Linked DNA regions of Homo sapiens: regions 2, 3 and 4 are each linked to region 1. The links are contacts of gene promoters, found by promoter capture Hi-C in blood cells and fetal thymus (Javierre and others, 2016). All regions are on one chromosome and are shown on one strand. Each heading gives the region's core, a stretch centred on a gene start or on the middle of the fragment in contact. The rest is flanking DNA. Distances are from core to core; before and after follow the strand shown.

Evidence for each region. Contacts are between HindIII fragments. The CHiCAGO score rates a contact against its expected background, and 5 or more counts as called.
Region 2: a contact is called between a fragment that was not itself captured here and the fragment with the promoter of GIMAP8 in region 1, in 13 of 17 cell types (non-activated CD4 T cells, activated CD4 T cells, total CD4 T cells and 10 more). The highest score is 32.5, in non-activated CD4 T cells.
Region 3: a contact is called between a fragment that was not itself captured here and the fragment with the promoter of GIMAP8 in region 1, in 8 of 17 cell types (non-activated CD4 T cells, activated CD4 T cells, total CD8 T cells and 5 more). The highest score is 12.8, in non-activated CD4 T cells.
Region 4: a contact is called between a fragment that was not itself captured here and the fragment with the promoter of GIMAP8 in region 1, in 1 of 17 cell types (non-activated CD4 T cells). The highest score is 5.1, in non-activated CD4 T cells.

Annotation. Positions count from the first base shown.
Region 1 is chr7:150,449,007-150,452,550 of GRCh38, reverse strand. It overlaps GIMAP8 (GTPase, IMAP family member 8), which reads right to left and starts at 1,921. Exons shown (of 5, transcript NM_175571.4): 1 at 1,376-1,921. The HindIII fragment of the contact is 1,822 bases long and covers 1,125-2,946 here.
Region 2 is chr7:150,670,114-150,673,657 of GRCh38, reverse strand. All of the region lies in intron 2 of LOC124901774 (a long non-coding RNA gene), which reads left to right. Among named protein-coding and RNA genes, the nearest start is that of GIMAP2, 14 kb to the left of the region's middle. The HindIII fragment of the contact is 9,573 bases long and covers 1-3,544 here.
Region 3 is chr7:150,651,532-150,655,075 of GRCh38, reverse strand. All of the region lies in intron 3 of LOC124901774 (a long non-coding RNA gene), which reads left to right. Among named protein-coding and RNA genes, the nearest start is that of GIMAP6, 21 kb to the right of the region's middle. The HindIII fragment of the contact is 6,469 bases long and covers 1-3,544 here.
Region 4 is chr7:150,591,972-150,595,515 of GRCh38, reverse strand. No RefSeq gene overlaps it. Among named protein-coding and RNA genes, the nearest start is that of GIMAP4, 26 kb to the right of the region's middle. The HindIII fragment of the contact is 1,114 bases long and covers 1,413-2,526 here.

The DNA.
Region 1 (3,544 bases), core at 672-3,171:
AGTGAGATGTCTCTGTAAATTAATTTAAGAAAAAAAGACACTAGTGAGAAAACAGCAAGCTGAAGGAAGCAGAGGCCTCCCACAGGTCTGAAGAAGAAAGAAATTTCTTTCCCAATTAAGCGACACAGCCTTGCATGGTTCCCCAGCAGAGTATGACCAAACCAATGAGTCTTGGCTGGACTCCTGCCTGCAGCTCCACATGATGTCAGGACCTACACACACACACCCACATACACACACGCACATGCACACTCCTACCACACATACAGCTTCCCAGCCAGTAGCACTTCACCCCAACATGTAGAAAGTGCACTTAAGGACAAAAAGGTACCCAAACTCACCCTCACTCACGCTCTGCCAGCCCACATTTCCCTCTGCTCAATTTCCCAGGCCACTCTGGAGACCCCAGCAGAGCAACTGAGAGAAAAAGAGAGCGTTCTTCCTATAATTCACTGAAGACTGTAAAGGCAGCCTCTGCCTCCTTCTCAGGAAACAGCCCAAGGCAAACGTGGACTCAGGCATCTGAGCACAGCATCCAGCCATGCGGGGATTCATCCCACATCTAATCGCAGTTCCCACTTACAGAGCAGGGTGGTTGGAGATGCCTCCAGAGCCCAGCGTGGGGAAGACCTTAGACCCAGCCCAGCAGGGCAACCATCAAGAGGAAGGGAAGAGGTTAACTGCTGAGGACCAGGTTGGCTGAAATGTAGGTGAAATCAGAAATATTGCTTTTGGTAAGGTCTTGACCCCTCCAATCCCTCCAATGCCCAGTTCACAGAATCCTAACTGTGCAAGGGGCAGGAAAGATCAGAAAAGCAGACGTGGAAAAATCAGCATCCCCCACCCCCTGCTTTGCGGGAGGAGCTCCGCTGGCTTCCTCCTGGGGGCTGCTCTGCGGCACCATCTAGCTTCATGGGGCATCTGACCGGCTGCTTCCGCCTGCTTCTTCCTCCCTTCTGCCAGTCTCAGCCCTCCTCCTCTTCAGGGCTCACACCCACTCCCCGACACGCCTTCTTTTAGGACAGCCACTCTCATAGATGTCTGGGAATATGCCTCTGTCCCCATCCTGCCGAATCTACTCCCCAGCAGGCTGGGGAGACACGCTTTGGACCAGGAGGAAAGCTTCCCAGGGCCCCTGCCATTCAACTCTGCCATTCAACCCTGCCATTCAACCCAGCCTCCTCTCCCATGGCTGAGCAGGCTGCCTTCCCGGTGCCAAGCCCATCCTCCCCCACAGCCATGCACCAGTGCACACACATCTACACACGAGTGCACATGTCACACATGCACTGCGGTCGTGTCCCATGGGGTCCCACGGCGTCCCACAGTCTCCGAGGCTCCGCAATCCACCTGGCTCTATCCCTCCATCTCTCACCTGGGTGGAAGCAGCTGCTGGTCCCCCAGGGCACAGGATGTGAGGAAGGTGAGGAGGGTGAGGGGAGAATGGCCGGAGAGCGACCCTCTTCCCAGGCCCTGGTCTTCCTGGCAGGAGGGTTTCGGGTGTTTCTGCAAAGGAAGAGATTTCTAGAAATAGCCTTCACATCCACAGAGGCATAAATGCAGTCGGAGAGGAAGTTCCCTGTGCAGGCCACAGGCTCAGAACCTCGAGAGCCGTCGGGGCTCAGGGAGGAGCCAGCATCGGGGACACACGCGCCTTCCCTGGGTGCTGAGCGCCTCGTGGGGTCACAACACAGCAGAAACTGAGGAGCCCGGCCCGTCCCGCAGCTGCAGACTGAGAGGAGGGAGGAGAAATGACAGCAGAGGCTTGGCCAGGGGCTGGGGCGCCGGGGCCGGTGCCAGGCTGAGCTTCAGAAGGGCTGCAAGAACAGGGGCTTGGATAGGGCAGGAAAAGGACGTCAAGCCAGTTCCTGTTCCTGAGAGGACAGAGATTGTGGCGCCGCTACAAGCTCTGAGCAAAGCCAGCTCCGGGCCTCTGTGTGCCCTTAAGTGGCCTTTAGGACTTCCTCTCACAAGTCCTTCCTCGCTTCCCTTCCCTTCCCTAAAACCCACAACCCGGGGAACTCCAAGCCTGACAGACCAACGCTGCTTCTCAGGGAATGAATGCTTTTCCCCAGCTTGCAAAACGTGAAATGCTAGACTTCGATGCTTTCAAATATTTCACAAAATGAAATCCCTTTTGTGAAAGAACATAGTGTCCAAACTACCTGGTCTCTACTTCATAAGGAAGTCAAACACGGAGGAAGACTTCTTAAAAAATGTTTACTAGGGTAAAAATGATGTAACATTAATAGTACCATCCTAACCATTTCTAAGTGTATAGCCCACAGTAGAAAGTACATTCACATGGTTGTGTGCCAGATCTGCAGGACTTTTCATCCTGCAGCACCCAAACTCTCCCCATTACACCCCAACTCACCTCCCCGAACCCCAGCCCGGGTAACCACCGTTCTACTTTCCGTTTCTATGATTTTTTTTTTTTTTTTGAGACAGAGTCTTGCTCTGTCGCCCAGGCTGGAGTGCAATGGTGTGATCTCGGCTCACTGCAACCTCCACCTCCCGAGTTCAAGCAATTCTCCTGCCCCAGCCTCCCGAGTAGCTGGGATTACAGGTTCCCGCCACCACACACGGCTAATATTTGTATTTTTAGTAGAAACGGGGTTTCACCATGTTGGCCAGGCTGGTCTTGAACTCCTGACCTCAAGTGATCCACCTGCCTCAGCCTCCCAAAGCGCTGGGATTACAGGTGTGAGCCACCACACCCGGCCTGTTTCTATGATTTTTGGCAACGTCAGATACTCATGTGAGTGGAGTCCCACAGTGTCTGCCCTCCTGAGACTGAGCAGAATGCCCTAGAGGTTCATCCAAGTGAGTGCGGGACCCTCTGCGCTCTGCACAGCAGGGCCCTCTTCACAGGATGCAGAGGCTAGGGCCTCGAGGGACTGGAGCTCAAGTTAGTTTTCCAAATGTCTGAGGTGGTGCTAAGCTTTCCAAAGGGACCCCGCAGAAGGAGGAGCAGTGGGGGTGGCTGAAGTAGAGGGGCATGCTTCAGATATGAAGTCTCTACAGTAGTCAAAACCACAGGCTTTGGGGAGCTGCTGTCAGCCTATCACATCCCGAGGGATCCACCCTCCCCCTGGACTGGTCTTCATGCGCCAGCCTTGAGGACTGCTCTACCTTGTTATGAACCTGAGGGAAACCCTGGTTATGCTGGGATGGCTCAAGAAGAGCTTTGGGGACACACAGGACACATCTTGATGGGGAAAGCTGACAAAGCCCTTCCCATGTCCCACTCTACCTGTCTCCTCATTGAAAGAGGATCTATTTTGGAAGAACCCCACCCTTCCTTTACAGTAGGTCAACGCACATAAAACCAACTCATTATAATGAAAAGACAAAAACCCGAAGCCAGGTACTGCAGTTCATCCCCGCTGGGGTACTAACAGAGGCAGAGGCTCAGCAAGAAACTGTTTCCCCAAAATAGAGAAGAAAAGGCTCACTCATTCTTAAATGAAATATTAAGCATCCAGGGATTGCTCTAAGTAAAACTGAAGCTGCAAATAACTCCTCAAAGATTCAGCAAGTC
Region 2 (3,544 bases), core at 590-3,089, 220 kb before region 1:
TGTTTAGCTTCCTGACTTACTAGGCAGTTTTCAATTCATCATTATATTTTGGAATAATTAAGAATTCAGGAGATGTTTAACTTCAAGCTCTCCCTCACTATTTAAACTCCCCAAATTTAAATATTTGCCATAAATAACTTTCAATTGATTTCACCCAAAATTCATTATTTGAATTGAAACTCCACTGAAGCAAATCTGGTTGTGTACACCAGTAAAACATGGATATTGCCCTTGAGTCTGTAGGGTGAAAGTGAAGTAAACTGCAGTCATATCTCAGTTGTTTCCTGACAAGATCCTGTCTTGTTCCCACGTTGTCTAAATTGGTTTTTAATTGTTGGAATCATTTTCTCCACATTATTAAGTGAAAGTTCTTCTATGAGAAAGGGACAATTTATTGCTGATTTCCAAAGTTTCATGAAGTGATGACTGCAAAGCAACACAATAACAACACCAACACCAACATCACCAACAGAAAAACCCTTCTTGGATCTTTTTTTTTTTTGGATCTTTTTGAAGAGGTCTGAATTGGTGACATGTACAGTGAAGAATGTGAAGAGCTATGAGCCTTACATAGCAAAGGACTTACTGCCAGAGAATTCAGTTCAAACCAATGCTCAGAGTTGCAAGAAGGAGTCAATCTTGCAGAATAATCTTAAAGATTAATTGAGTACATTTTTGAATTTAAAAATTTTTGCAATCTATCCATCTGAGAAAGGGCTAATACCCAGAATCTACAAAGAACTTAAACAAATTTACAAGAAAAAAACAACCCCATCAAAAAGTGGGCAAAGGATATGAACAAACACTTCTCAAAATAAGACATTTATGCAGCCAACAAACATGAAAAAAAGCTCATCATCACTGGTCATTAGAGAAATGCAAATCAAAGCCACAATGAGATGCCATCTCACGCCAGTTAGAATGATGATCATTAAAAAGTCAGGAAACAACAGATGCTGGAGAGGATGTGGAGAAATAGGAACGCTTTTACACTGTTGGTGCAAGTGTAAATTAGTTCAATCATTGTGGAAGACAGTGTAGCGATTCCTCAAGGATCTAGAACCAGAAATATCATTTGACCCAGCAATCCCATTACTGGGTATATACCCAAAGGATTATAAATCTTTCTACTATAAAGACACATGCACACACATGTTTATTGCAGCATTGTTCACAATAGCAAAGACTTGGAACCAACACAAATGCCCATCAATAATAGACTGGATAAAGAAAATGCAGCACATATACACCACGGAATACTATACAGCCATAAAAAGGATGAGTTCATGCTCTTTACAGGGATGTTGATGAAGCTGGAAATAATCATTCTCAGCAAACTGACACAGGAATAGAAAACCAAACCCCGCATGTTCTCACTCATAAGTGGGAGTTGAACAAAGAGAACACATGGCCACAGGGAGGGGAACATCACACACTGGGGCCTGTTGCGGGGTGGGGGGCTAGGGGAGGGATAGCATTAGGAGAAGTACCTAATGTAGATGACGGGTTGATGGGTGCAGCAAATCAGCATGGCACGTGTATACCTATGTGACAAACCTGCACGTTGTGCACATGTATCCCAGAATTTAAAGTATAATAATAATAATAAAAGAAACTTTAAAATCATACAAAAGTCATCAACAGAAGCATTCCACTATATGATGCAATCTCAAGCACAGTGTTACATTATTACCCAGGGGTCCGTATGCTTTCAAGCAGAGGAAACACAAAGACATGGCCATTTTGAGTTTTTCCCATCACATTGCTTTGACTATGATTTCAGACAACAGGCCACAGTCATCTCCTTCTGGAGGGTCAAATGCCATAAAGACAGTTCCCAGTCCCTTGGAACTGGATATGGACAAACCCCAGGAGTGAACAATTCCACCTCCTCCTTTATCAGCTCATCCCACACACTCACCCCGCTGAACAGCCACCGTGAGGACTCCGGTCTCCCTCTCCTCTCCTCTAAACCTCATTTAGGCAATTCTAATTAGTAAATAATCCTTTTTTAAATTTGTGAGTGAAATTTGATTTTGTTATCTATATGAACCTATTTTTGTATTTAATCAATTTTTCTGAATGCTTGTAGAAGTGTAGTAGAAAAGAATGTTTGCATTTATATCATTGCTTACTGCAGACAGATATGAGTGTAGTGTTAAATCACTGGCAAATAATCAGCTAAACAATTAGCTGATTGGCATTTAATGGCCTTACATTTTGCAGAAATCATTGGTGATTTTTATTATATTGCTTTGATTGTTTAAAAGTGTTTTAGTGATATCTGGAGGAAATTGTTGGGGTTTTTGGATGGGCTAGAAATGTACTGCAGCTTTTCCCCTTTAAATGATGAAATATAGAACCCCTATTGTGGAATTTTGCTATGTAACTTTTTTTGGGATGTATGACATTCGGAGCAAGGGATTCCTCTACTGTGAGATGTAATGGGGTGGCATTGTAAAAGACTCAGCAGGCCATGAAGGCAAAGAGTTGTGGGTGAGTCAGGGCTTTATAAAGATCTCTGAGCATCTGAGAACCTGCTTCTCACACACAATCTGTTTTCCTGGCTATTATGAGTCAAACAGGGAATAAAGCTGACCAATAGTACCTTTAAGTTCTGTTGACTTTACAATTCTATGATAAACCTGGGAAAGTAAAACCACCAGGAAAAGAGTCTGTTACCTTGGTGAAGGAGGGTAGAAGCGATTTGGGATATTCTAGGCTCAGCAGGTGCAACGTGGAGAAGAAGCTAGGGACACAGTTGACAACGAGAGGCTCCCACATGTGGCCCTCATTGATCTGTCCCCCACCCCATCTAGAGCCATTTGAGCCACTCCAACTGAGGCCCAGTCTGCAAGGAGTGAAGTCAAGTTGTACCCAGTGTGCTCTGCCCAAATTCTTGACACACAAAAACACGTTGTTTTAAGCCACTGAGTTTTGGAGTAGTTTCTTATGCAGCAACAGATAATCAAATCACCTGAGTGGGTTCCTACAAGGAGAATTGCTATACAATTGGTACATGCATTTGTAATTTTGAAAGATATTACTGAATTGCTTACAATAAAAATTTTAGTCAAATTAGTTTCACCAGCATTTTATTAGTTTCCCATATTGATTTCTCATAATTTTATCTTTGCCAAACTGATAGGTGAAAGATGATGTTAGTGTGATTTTCATATACATTACTCAATGGGAATATGATTGAGTCATTTGTCATATGTCTATTTATTAAAGAAAGAACTATATTTTTTATTGATATCTCTTACATATTTATTGCCCATGTTTCAATTCTGATGGGAATAATTTTGATATTGATTTGTAAAAGTTCTTTATGGGGCCAAAAATGATAATTTATCTTCTTTTTTTGAATTTTTTATAAAACAACTTCTAATTTCTTTCACTGTTAATTTATTGTGGCTAGTATCTAAGAGAATGTTAAATAAGTAATCACAATGATAGTAGGCTTCCTTAGCTTGTTCTTAACTTTTGTGGCAATATCTCAATGTTTACCATTAAACTAGATGCAGACTTTGAGGTTGAGATG
Region 3 (3,544 bases), core at 263-2,762, 200 kb before region 1:
ACACTTCAAGAACCTGGACAACTCTATCAGTAACAATAGGATTGAACAAAGTAGTATGTATATTGCAAATAATGTTGCACAAACAAGTTACAAATAAGAATAGAACTTACTGCTTTTTAAAAGCATGTAGATAGAGAGATGCAGAAATCAACATAAGTATGTGGATTTGCATATGTAAATTTGCACGCATGGCTTTCCCAGCTCTGTCTGCTAAGGCGAGCTTAGAAAAAGTGACACCTTCTAGCAATGAGCACATCAAGTGTCCAAATCTTTGTTTATTACCCAATAACCAGAACCAAAAGTCCTTGGAAAAGGGGTAGATTCCAGAGAATGTTTCTCATGTATAGATTTGGCAAAACTCCTAAAGTTTGACAGCCTACTTTCTTGACAAAAGTATAGGGAAGACAGAAACTCTCAGACACTGCTGAAGGGAAAGCAAAAGAGTTCAGCCCTATGGGGGTAAATAAAGAAGGATTTACCCTTTGACACACATTATCAAATTTAAGAATGTGCCCAAAAATACACTGGCAAAAGTATAGAAAGAACTATGCAAAAATCTCCTTGGAAGAGTACTATTTAAAAAAGCAAAGACAAAAACTGATCCAAATTACCATGAATAAGAGACTGGCGGGATGAACTTAGATACATCTATGCAATGAAGTACTTCTTCATTGTAAAAAGTAGTGAAGACTATCTCTATAGAGAGTTGTAAAATCATCTCCAGGATATATTGCTAAGTATTTTATTCAATTATGAGTTGAATAAAATAATGTAAGGGATACTATCATTTGTTTAGTAAGGGGCACAAGATACACTTTTGCATATATATTTATTATATTTATATGTTATATATTTTCATATAGATACATAAATATAAGGATGACAATAGAAAGATATACTTTGAAAACAAGCAAGGAAAGAAAGAAGGAAGGGAAAGAAGAAAAAGAGAAAAAGAGAGGTAGAAGAAAGGAAGAAATAAAAGAAGAAAGCAAGAAAGAGTAACAAGGAAGGAAAAAGTTACCTGTGTACAGAGGGAGGGAATAGAAATGAGAGCAGAAGCTGGACTTCTTTGAATTGACTGTTATGAAGATTTGATTTTAGAATGATAAAAATATTTGAGTTGAAGTGTGACTCTACCACACTCACTCTTAACCATGCACTCTACAGCCTGTCCTTGGTTACTCTCAAACCATGATTGTACATTTTCATTGACATCATGTGATAAATAGGTCAGGGGAGGGCAAAGGAAATGATCCACACTTTGCTCAGAAGGTGAGCTGGGAGCAAGCCTTGGATTGGAGAGTCCATGGGGAGGGCTCCGCACTTCTCTGTGGACTTTTCCCTCTATCCCATACTGAAAAGCCAAAGATGAGAGAGAGACAGAAAAAATCATTTTTTTTTTTTGAGATGGAGTCTCACACTGGCATCCGGGCTGGAGTGCAGTAGCATGATCTCGGCTCACTGCAACCTCCCCCTCCCAGGTTCAAGCGATTCTCCTGCTTCAGCCTCCCAAGTAGCTGGGATTACAGGCACCCGCCATGGCGTCCAGCTAATTTTTTTGTATTTTTAGTAGAGACGGGGTTTCATTACGTTGGTCAGGCTGGTCTCAAACTCCTGACCTTGTGATCCACTCGCCTCAGCCTCCCAAAGTGCTGGGATTACAGGCATGAGCCACCGCGCCTGGCCTAGAAAAATCATTTTAAAACTTTCCTAAATGGGAGACAATTAGATCATCATAGCAGATGGCAGGCAGGACCAGATTGCAGTTCTGGACAGAGCAGCTTGTGGAAGCTCACATTGTGAATTTTAGCGGCAGATCAACTGCAAGAACAAACCAGCAACCCTGAGAGGACCCTCCAAAGGAAGCAGTCTGCTCCTGCAGGACCTGGGAGATACCCCAAATACTGTGAGTGCCCCAACTGCAGAAGTGGGAAAGGGAGACCCTCCTCTCCCAAACACACAACAAAAAAAAAAGTCCAGGACCAGATAGATTCACAGTAGAATTCTACCACACATTCAAAGAAGAATTGGTACCAATCCTTTTGATGCTGTTCTACAAGATAGAGGAAGAAGGAACCCTCCCTAATTCATTTTATGAAGCCAGCATCACAGTAATACCAAAACCAGGAAAGGACATAATCAAAAAAGAAAACTACAGACTGATATCCTTGATGAACATTGATGCTAAAATCCTTAACAAAATACTAGCTAACTGAATCCAACATATCAAAAAATATGATCGAGTAGGTTTCATACCAGGGGTACAGGGATGGTTTAACATATGCAAGTCAATAAATGTGTTATACCACATAAACAGAATTAAAAACAAAAATCACATGATCATCTCAATAGATGTGGAGAAAGCATTTGACAAAATCCAGCATCCTTTTATGATTAAAACTCTCATCAAAATCAGCATAAAAGGACCATACCTTAATGTAATAAAAGCCATCTATGACAAACCCATAGCCAACATAATACTGAATAGGGAAAAGCTGAAAGCATTCTCCCTGAGAACTAGAACCAGACAAGGATGCCCACTCTCACTGCTCCTCTTCAACATAGTACTAGAAGTCCTAGCCAGAGCAATCAGACAAGAGAAAGAAATAAAGGGCATCCAATCAGTAAAGAGAAAGTAAAATTGTCACTATTTGCTGATGATATGATTGTTTACCTTGAATACCCTAAGGACTCCTCCAGAAATCTCCTAGAACTGATAAAAGAATTCAGCAAAGTTCTGGATATAAAATTAATGTACATAAATCAGTAGCTCTTCTATACACCAACAGCAACCAAGCAGAGAATCAAATCAAGAACTCAATATTTTTTACAATAGCTGCAAAAAATAAATAAAATAAAATAAAATAAAATAAAATAAAATACTTAGGAATATACCTAACCAAGGAGCTGAAACACCTCTACAAGGAAAACTACAAAACACGTCTTAAAGAAATCATAGGTGACACTAATGGAAACACATCCCATGCTCATGGATGGGTAGAATCAATATTGTGAAAATGACCATACTGCCAAAAGCCATCTACAAAGTCAGTGCAATCCCCATCAAAATACCACCATCATTCTTCACAAGATTAGAAAAAACAATTCTAAACTTCATAAGGAACCAAAAAGGAGCCCACATAGCCAAAGCATGACTAAGCAAAAAGAACAAATCTGAATGCATCACGCTACCTAATTTCGAACCATAAAACAGTGTGATACTGTTTTATAGGCACATAGACCAATGGAACAGAATAGAGAATCCAGAAATAAACCCAAATACTTATAGCCAACTGATCTTTGACAAAGCAAACAAAAACATAAAGTGGGGGAAAGGACACCTTTTTCAACAAATGTTGCTGGGGTAATTGGCAGCCACGTGTAGGAGAATGAAACTGGATCCTCATCTCTCACCTTATAGAAAAATCAACTCAAGATGGAGTAAGAACTTAAGCCTAAGACCTGAAACTACAAAAATTCTAGAAGATAACATTGGAAAAGCCCTTTTAGACATTGGTTTAGGCAAGGATTTCATGACCAAAAG
Region 4 (3,544 bases), core at 720-3,219, 140 kb before region 1:
TGTAGTTTTGTTAGTAAGGAGGAAAGGGAAAATGGATGGTAAGCACATAACTAGTAGCGTGGGCCATGTAGAGCTTGGGTGAAATTTCTCTGCACTTTGCTGGGAACTCCCTCAATCTCACCTACTAAGGTGATGTCTTTTGACAATCTCACAACCAAATCTTGTACATTCTAAACATATCCCAAGGATAGGTCAAGAAAATCAAAACTCAGAGTCTGACTCTGGTTCCAAAATAACACAGAGGCTTGAAACTGGCTAAATGTCCTAGAGATAAGTTTTGGAGAAAGTATTAAGAATAAAATATTGCTCAAACTTCTCAAGATGGCCAAATAAAAACAGATCCAGTCTGCAGCTCCCAGCAAGATCAACACAGAAGGCAGGTGATTTCTGCATTTCCAACTGAGGTACATGGCTGATCTCATTGGGATTGGTTAGACAGTGGGTGCAGCCCACAGAGGATGAGCAGAAGCAGGGTGAGGTGTTGCCTAACCCAGGAAACACAAGGGGTCAGGGAACTCCCTCCCCTAACCAAGGGTAGCCGTGAGAGACTGTGCCATGAGGGATGGTGCATTCCAGCCCAGATACTGTGCTTTTCCCACCATCTTCACAACCCACAGACCAGGAGATTTCCTTGGGTGCCTACATCACCAGGGCCCTGGGTTTCAATCACAAAACTGGGCAGCCACTTGGGCAGACACCGAGCTAGCTGCAGGAGATTTTTTTTCATACGCCCGTGGTGCCTGGAATGCCAGCAAGACAGAACTGTTCACTCCCCTAGAAAGGGGGCTGAAGCCAGGGAGCCAAGTGGTCTAGCTCAGCAGATCCCACCCCCATGGAGTCCAGCAAGCTAAGACCCATTGGCTTGAAGTTCTCACTGCCAGCACAGCAGTCTGAAGTCAACCTGAGATGCTTGAGCTTGGGGGGTGGGCGGGGAGGGGTGGTATCCAGCATTGCTGAGGGTTGAGTAGGTGGTTTTCTCCTCATGGTGTACACAAAGTCCCCAAGAGGTTTGAACTGAGCAAAGCCCACTGCAGCTCAGCAAAGCCCCTGTACCCAGACTGCCTCTCTAGATTCCTCCTCTCTGGGCAGGGCATCTCTGAAAGAAAGGCAGCAGCCGCAGTCAGGGGCTTATAGATAAAACTCCCATCTTCCTGGGACAGAGCACCTGGGAAAAGGGGCAGCAGTGGGCACAGCTTCAGCAGACTTAAACTTTCCTGCCTGCTGGCTTTGAAGAGAGCAGTGGATCTCCCAGTACAGCACTTGAGCTCTGCTAAGGGACAGACTGCCTCCTCAAGTAGGTCCCTGATCCTGGTGCCTCCTGACTGGAAGAAACCTCCCAGCAGGGGTCAACAAACACCTCATACAGGAGAGCTCCAGCTGGCACATGGCAGGTGTCCCTCTAAGACAAAGCTTCCAGAGGAAGGAACAGGCAGCAATCTTTGCTATTCTGCAGCCTCGGCTGGTGATATCCAAGCAAACAGGGTCTGGGGTGGATCTCCAAAAAACTCCTGCAGACCTGCAGAAAAGGGACCTAACTGTTAGAAAGAAAACTAACAAACAGAAAAGAATAGCATCAACATCAACAAAAAGGACGTCCACACAGGTACCCCATTTGAAGGTCACCAACATGAAAGACCAAAGGCAGATAAATTGACGAAGATGAGGAAAAGCCAGTGCAAGAAGGCTGAAAATTCCAAAAACCAGAATGCCTCTTCTCCTCCAAAGGATCACAACTCTTCACCAGCAAGGGAACAAAACTGGACAGAGAATGAATTTGAAGAATCGACAGAGGTAGGCTTCAGAAGGTGGGTAATAACAAACACCTCTGAGCTAAAGAAGCATGTTCTAACCCAATGCAAGAAAGCTAAGAACCTTGAAAAAGGTTAGAGAAATTGCTAACCAGAATAATCAGTTTAGAGAAGAACATAAATGACCTGATGAAGCTGAAAAACACAGTACGAGAACTTTGTGAAGTATACACAAGTATCAATAGCCAAATGGATCAAGCTGAAGAAAGGATTTCAGAGACTGAAGATCAACTTAATGAAATAAAGCATGAAGGAAAGATTAGAGAAAAAAAGTATGAAAAGGAAGGAACAAAGCCTCCAAGAAATATGGAACTATGTGAAAAGACATTTGATTGGTGTACCTGAAAGTTATGGGGAAAATGGACCCAAGTTGAAAAACACTCTCCAGGATATTATCCAGGAGAACTTCCCCAACCTAGCAAGACAGGCCAACATTCTAATTCAAGAAATTCAGAAACCACCACAAAGATACTCCTCGAGAAGAGCAACCCCAAGACATATAATTGTCAGATTCAACAAAGTTGAAATGAAGGAAAAAAACGTTAAGGGCAGCCAGAGAGAAAGATCAGGTTACCCACAAAGGGAAGCTCATCAGATTAACAGTGTATCTCTCTGCAGAAACCATACGAGGCAGAAGAGAGTTGGGGGTTGTCAATATTCAACATTCTGAAATAAAAGAAATTTCAACCCAGAATTTTATATCCAGCCAAACTAAGCTTCATAAGTGAAACAGAAATAAAATCCTTTACAGACAAGCAAATACTGAGAGATTTTGTCACCATCAGGCCTGCCTTACAAGAACACCTGAAGGAAGCATGAAACATGGAAAGAAACAACCAGTACCAGCTGCTGCAAAAACATAACAAATTGTAAAGACCATTGACACTATGAAGAAACAGCATCAACTAATGGGCAAAATAGCCAGCTAGCATCATAATGACAGGATCAAATTCACATAACAATATTAACTTTAAATGTAAATGGGCTAAATGCCCCCAATTAAAAGACACAGACTGGCAAATTGGATGTAGAGTCAAGACCCAACGTGTGCTGCTGTATTCAGGAGACCCATCTTAGGTGCAAAGACAGACATAGGCTCAAAATAAATGGATGGAGGAATATTTACCAAGCAAATAGAGAGAGAAAAAAAGCAGGGGTTGTAATCCTAGTCTCTGATAAAAACAGACTTTAAACCAACAAAGATCAAAAAAGACAAAGAGGGGCATTATATAATGGTAAAGAGATCAATGCAACAAGAAGAGCTAACTATCCTAAATATATATGCACCCAATACAGGAGCACCCAAATTCATAAAGTTCTTAGAGACCTATGAAGAGACTTAGACTCCCACACAATAGTAGTGGTAGGCATTAACACCTCACTGTCAATATTAGACAGATCAACGTGACAGATAATTAACAACAATATTCAGGACTTGAACTTAGCTCTGAACAAAGCAGACCCAGTAGACATCTAAAGAACTCTCCACCCCAAATCAACAGAATATACATTCTTCTCAGCACCACATTGCACTTAGTCTAAAACTGACCACATAATTGGAAGTAAAACACTCCTCAGCAAATGCAAAAGAAGGGAAATAGTAACAGTTTCTCAGACCACAGTGCAATCAAATTAGAACTCAAGATTCAGAAACTCACTCAAAATTGCACGAGAACGTGGAAAGTGAACAACATGCTCCTGAATGACTACTGGGTAAATAACGAAATTAAGGTAGA